2 separate regions of the Homo sapiens genome follow, and region 2 is linked to region 1. The links are contacts of gene promoters, found by promoter capture Hi-C in blood cells and fetal thymus (Javierre and others, 2016). All regions are on one chromosome and are shown on one strand. Each heading gives the region's core, a stretch centred on a gene start or on the middle of the fragment in contact. The rest is flanking DNA. Distances are from core to core; before and after follow the strand shown.

Region 1 (2,842 bases), core at 166-2,665:
TGTAATCCCAGCACTTTGGGAGGCCCAAGTGGGTGGATCACCTGAGGTCAGGAGTTCGAGACCAGCCTGGCCAAAATGGTGAAACCCCGTCTTTGTATTTTTGAAAAATACAAAAATTAGCCTGGCATGGTGGCGGTCGCCTGTAATCCCAGCTACTCGGGAGGTTGTGGCAGGGGAATCGCTTGAACCAGGAGGCTGAGGTTGCAGTGAGCCGAGGCTGCGCCACTGCACTCCAGCCTGGGCGAGAGAGTGAGACTCCGTCTCAAAAATTAAAAAAAAAAATCCAGTTGGAGAATCAAAAATTTTTAAAAATTTGACTGTGTAATCCTACAAGAAGTAAGTAGCTTGAGAAAGAGAAATGCTGATAAAGTCGCATTAAGTTTCAGAGTTGAAATTCAAGCTCCTGTATCTAACATGTTTCCCTGTTTAAGGTAGAATTTAAAAAAAAACTATATATGACATATATATGTCAACCCAAAAAAATAAAGCAGTATATATTATATATATAAGAATATATATATATTCTCCTTTATATGTTTTTTGTTTCACATATATATATAAATATATATCTCAACCACAAAAAAATTTGGTTTGTGACAAAGATGCACTTATTTGCACGAACCTATCTTGTTAATGATCAAGAAATCTGCTTTGTTACAATCATTAGAGGACAGAAATATACATACATATTTAAATCTATTTAATGAAATGCAGTTTTATGTTAAAAATCAATGATCTGCTAACCTAAAGAGTCGCACAGGAATACTATGATTATTAAACACAATGCGATTCTCTAAATAAGTAAACACGTGCAATGATATCAAAGTTCAAAATTCTCTAATTCTTCCACAAAGACTATGAAAATCACCTTGGAGTGTATGAACCAGCGTCCTGGCCCCGCCAGGTCGGGGCTGGGGCGGGCGCGGGCCGGGAGCGCTTACCCCGCGGCAGGAGCGATTCAGCGCCACTACCTGCTTCGCCTGGTTGTGGTGTGGCTGCTGCGCCAACCGAAAGGCCTCCTTAATCCGCAGCAGTCTCTTTTCGCTCCCATGGCTCTGGGACTCTGTCCGGACTAGCCCTGTCCGCGCTCGGCTACATCCGGCCCGCCCACCAGCTCAGAGGCAGAGTTCTCCGCGGTGTCTCCTAGGGTTTCTTGTCAGAGGGCCCCAGGCGCCTAGGGAGTCGTTACCGCCCTGGCATTCAAATAACTCCCGCGAGAGGCGGAAATCCCGCGAGACTGCCGACAGAGCGTAGGGAAGTGGAAAAGTGGAGCCTGCACCGCCCGCTCCCGGCACCCCCGGACACCGCCCCGGTCTCACGCATGCGCAGAGGGCCGATCCAGTTCTTTTCGGCTGGAATGGGGAATTTGTGAGGTAGGCCGGAAGTGGTGTTGCGGAGGGAAGTGTGGGGAGAGCAGAGGCGCAGCTCTGCTGGAGAGACCTGAGGCTTGCAGCGCTGGGCCCGGCCGGGTCGCTGCGGCTGGGCTGGAGGTGAGGCGAAAGAAGGGCATCCTCTGATGGGAGTGGACCGGAGTCCGCTAAAGCGAAGCATTCCAGGGTTCGTTGCGGGAAATACAGTCTGGTTTTGCCCCCCGTATGAATTGAGGGAAGGTGAGAGCAGAAGCAATCCGGGCCTGAAGGGCGATTATTCTAGGGTCGGCCGAGGGGTTCAGGCCAAAGTTCATTGAAATCCTAGCTGGGTCCCTGGAGGACGAGAAAACCGGTCAGGAGTCTCCTGGGAAGAGGGTCATGTTTTAATCTAGCTAAAGCTGGTACCTGGCAGTTTCCACTCTTAAGGCCTAGTGTACTAACTAATGTGTGCGCAATGTCAAAACAGGAAACAAAGGGAAATGCAAGAGGTGGAAGGTAATTTTAAGTTAGTGGCAGTATGACAGATTTCCAGTGCCTTCAGGAAGGTATCCAGCCTTAAAGATGCTTTTTTTAAATAGACGATTTTAGACAGAAAAAAGGTAGAAACAAAACTATAACACATGTGTACTCACCACTGAATTGGAGAAATAAATGATTATATAAGTGATTGAAGTCCTTTGTCAGCTCTACCCCGTCTCATTCTCTTTCCTTTTGCCTAAGGAAACCACTCTCCTAACCACCTTTATGCAATCTGTAATGTGTACATCTTTTTGCAGCTAGCTTGTTTTACATAATGTTTTTGAGATTTGTCAGTGTTGTGTAACTCCACCTTATTCATCTTAATAGCTGAACAGATATTCTGTTATTTTAATATGTCACTGTTCATTGTTTAGTATCTCCAGTGCCTGACATACTTTAGGCACTGTAGGTAGCTAAATGTTAGTTGAATGCATGGCTGCTGTAGCATTTGAACTAAGTAGAAAAGAATAAATAGGACTTCATGTGACCCAACAAGAGTATTCCAGGCAAAAGGAATACTAGCCAAAAGCAGAGACATGAAAGTGCATGAACTATTTCAAGAATTTCCATACTTTTAGTACTGAAATGTAGAATGTATGGAGATCATGTGATGAAGGAGAAACCTGGAAAGATGAGGCTTAAGCTTAAAGGATATTATCCTGAAGAGCTTACACAAGCTCGGCGCCATTAAATGCTTTTCCAGTTATGAGGAAGCTGATTAGAGCTGTATTTTCAGAAGATGATACAGCGCACTAGAGATATATCTTAGGATATAAAAGATTAGTGACGGGGAATTTTAGACTATCAAGCATTGTAACAATAACAATCATTGCATTAAGCAAGTAAGACAACCAGCCAGACTAAAAATCCAAAAACATTTTCCTAGTCCATCATATTATCACATTCCTTAACAATTATTAATATTTCATATTTTCTTCTGACAAACTTGCAAC
Region 2 (2,842 bases), core at 126-2,625, 210 kb before region 1:
TATTTTTCACAGTTCTGGTGGCTGGGAAGTCCAAGATCAAGGGGCTGGCATCCTGCAAGGGTCTTCTTGCTGCACCATCCTATGGTGCAAGGCAAGAAAACATGAGAGCAAGAAAGAGAAAGAGAGAAAACGAGGCCAAATTCATTCTTTTATAAGGAATCCACTCCTGCAATAATGGCATTAATGCATTTATGAGGGCAGAGCCCTACAGCCTAATTGCCTCTCATTAGGTGCCACCTCCCGACACCATTGTGTTAGGGATTAAGTTTCCAATACATGCTTTTGGGAAGACACATTCAAATCATAGAACATGGCATGCCACACAGGACCACATAGGGAAGAACCAATGTTGGTCAGAAGGCAGAACGGAGACAGCAGAGTACAGCACAGAGCCTTTACTAGGGTTTTCCCAGGAAGGAATAGGTGAAGCAGGGTAGGGTGCTGCATAAATTTAGGAGTGGATAGCTTGAATAATCGTGGTGTTCTCTGGGCTATAGTGGTCTGGTATCTGGACCTGGGGTGACTTAGGACAGGAGGAATATTGGCTTAGTGTGTGAGAGTTTGATAATGGAGATGGTTGTGTGGGCTCTGGATTGGTTGGCTTGTATATCAAAGGAGACTTTGCATATTTCAGGGGAATCATTTGCTATCTCTAGAAATTAGCTAACATAGGAGAATCAGTTTCTCCAGGATCAAGGCTCCAAATGCCAGAGCATCAAGAATACAGAAAATAAGAAGATACAGTCAATACACATACACACAAACATACACACACCATACACACAGACACAAATACACACAAACACATGTGCACATACACACTAGTCTATTGGAGTGTGTTTCCTTGGCTCCATTCATTCTATTACTCTTCCAGCTACTTTGCCTCCTACCTCTCCCTCTTTTTTTTTTTCCAACTTTTTTGAGCCATAACATTTATATCCGTTTTCAGGAATTGCAGTGGGATTCAGAGAATAGGCAAAGATTAAACTTGTGCGTTCAACCTTCCACTTTTAACTGGAAAACACTCAAGTGCAACATTTGTTGGTACTCTGCAGCACCTCCACAGAGCTTTTGCTGCTGCCACGTTAGACAGCTTCACCATGTAATGACGACCTTTTAAGATTCTAAATCCCCCCACCTCTGAGCCTGTTCTTCATTGGAAATGCAAGACGACCGGATGACATGAGGGAGGGGCAGCTCTTAAGGCTTGACCTAATTTCCAGTGCTGCTCATGTTGATTTCTCTCCGTCCTTCTACTGCAGGCTGTGCGTCTCTGCTTACCCAGCATGCTTGTACTCCACTACTGGAAGTAGCCTGTCACTTTAAAGGAAAAAAAAAAAAGCTACCGAGTGACCTTCCTTAGGAACGGGTTGCTAAGCTGGTGTTTTTGCTCCAAGACATGGCTGCAGCTTCCCAGGGAGGAGCCCAGGGGCATCTCCAACACTCAGCCTTTCCCTCCGGACCCTTTTAAAAGATTCAACAGCACCGTCTCTCTCCACTTCCATCCTAGAATGCAGAATCTGCAAAGTGCCTTTTGTAAAGTTTCTTAAGGTAAATCAGTCCCTAACCGGACTTTAGGCTGCAACAGTGATTTCCTGTTTTCAGTTACCCGGCTTGAAGTTCAGCCTCTCCAGGATACCGTGAGACTGGATTTAATGAATTGTAAATTTAGGGGCTCTCATCGTTATTTATGTTTTTACTTTCTGAAATGGGAACATAGACCATTACTTGGCAGCTTTGATTTGAGCTGCTATCTGGTATCTGGTTTGCAGGAAATGTAAGTCCAGTTCATCACAAGTCCTGAGTGAAAATGCTCTCTGACCAAAGCTCTGTGAAACATTAGCTGCGTGTTGCATTTATGGGCCTTTTAGTTCAAACTGGCTTAAGGGGAGAAGCACTAATTACTGCAAAATACACTTTTCTTGGTATGAGACAGAGAAAGGGCTACTAACCACAGTGCTAAGAGTTGCTGTGCTTTCCAAAGACTTCAAGAAAATGTACTGGCTACAACTTAAGCTGATTGTTTGTTTCCCTTCATTGCAAAGAGGTGGTATGAAAAGCTAATAAAGTCAAATAAGAAATATGTTTGCTACTGCATTTTCATATAACCTTTTCTGCAAATAAATTCAGCACCAGCATGAAATCTCTCTCTCTCTCTCTCTCTCTCTCTCTCTCTCTCTCTCTATATATATATATATATATATATATATATATATATATATATATATCCTAGAGCTCACTTATAGAGTCATTCATTCAAACATTTATGGAGCATCAACAATGCACCAGGCAATGAATTTAAGTTTAGAGTGTGCAAACATAAATTAGACTAGGTCAGAAGCTCAGAATTTGCTGGGAAAACAGACCTATAAACACATGATAAGAGTACAATGAGCTAAGTGCCATAAGAGATTTATAAAAACACTGAGAGGACAGTGGGATGACATCCAGGGAGGGGCTTCCAGTACTTAGCACATCATGTAAATGCACTGGTCATATATCACGTAACACAGCTCAAATATGGTACTCATGTGTACTCTTCAAGGCCAGTGTACATTATATCGAGCTGATTAAATGATTCTATAAAGCTATTGGTCACTAACCTTATGCTAAGGGAAACTGCAGCTGGAATAACTTGTAGAATAAGATAATGTATTCCAAAACAATGTATGTGGCACCTCCCCAGGTGTCCAAGCTCCAGGAGGGAACAGAAAAATGTTCTCAGGGTGTGAGGAAGAAAATACTCATGGGTAGAAGTGCAGGAGGTTTCAGAAGCACCATAAATGGAAACAGCAAGGCAACTGCCCTGGGCCTGGCTGAAGGGAGGGAGACATGAAACATG

Evidence for each region. Contacts are between HindIII fragments. The CHiCAGO score rates a contact against its expected background, and 5 or more counts as called.
Region 2: the fragment with the promoter of CC2D2A here is called in contact with the fragment with the promoter of FAM200B in region 1 in 17 of 17 cell types (M2 macrophages, M1 macrophages, M0 macrophages and 14 more); the score reaches 21.8 in M2 macrophages.

What each region holds. Positions count from the first base shown.
Region 1 is chr4:15,680,412-15,683,253 of GRCh38, forward strand. It overlaps FAM200B (family with sequence similarity 200 member B), which reads left to right and starts at 1,416. Exons shown (of 2, transcript NM_001145191.2): 1 at 1,416-1,490. It also overlaps a transcript of FBXL5 not described here. RefSeq lists enhancers at 916-1,215, 1,386-1,625, 1,636-1,685. The HindIII fragment of the contact is 4,207 bases long and covers 1-2,530 here.
Region 2 is chr4:15,468,507-15,471,348 of GRCh38, forward strand. CC2D2A (coiled-coil and C2 domain containing 2A) reads left to right here and starts at 1,376. Exons shown (of 37, transcript NM_001378615.1): 1 at 1,376-1,551. The HindIII fragment of the contact is 6,808 bases long and covers 1-2,842 here.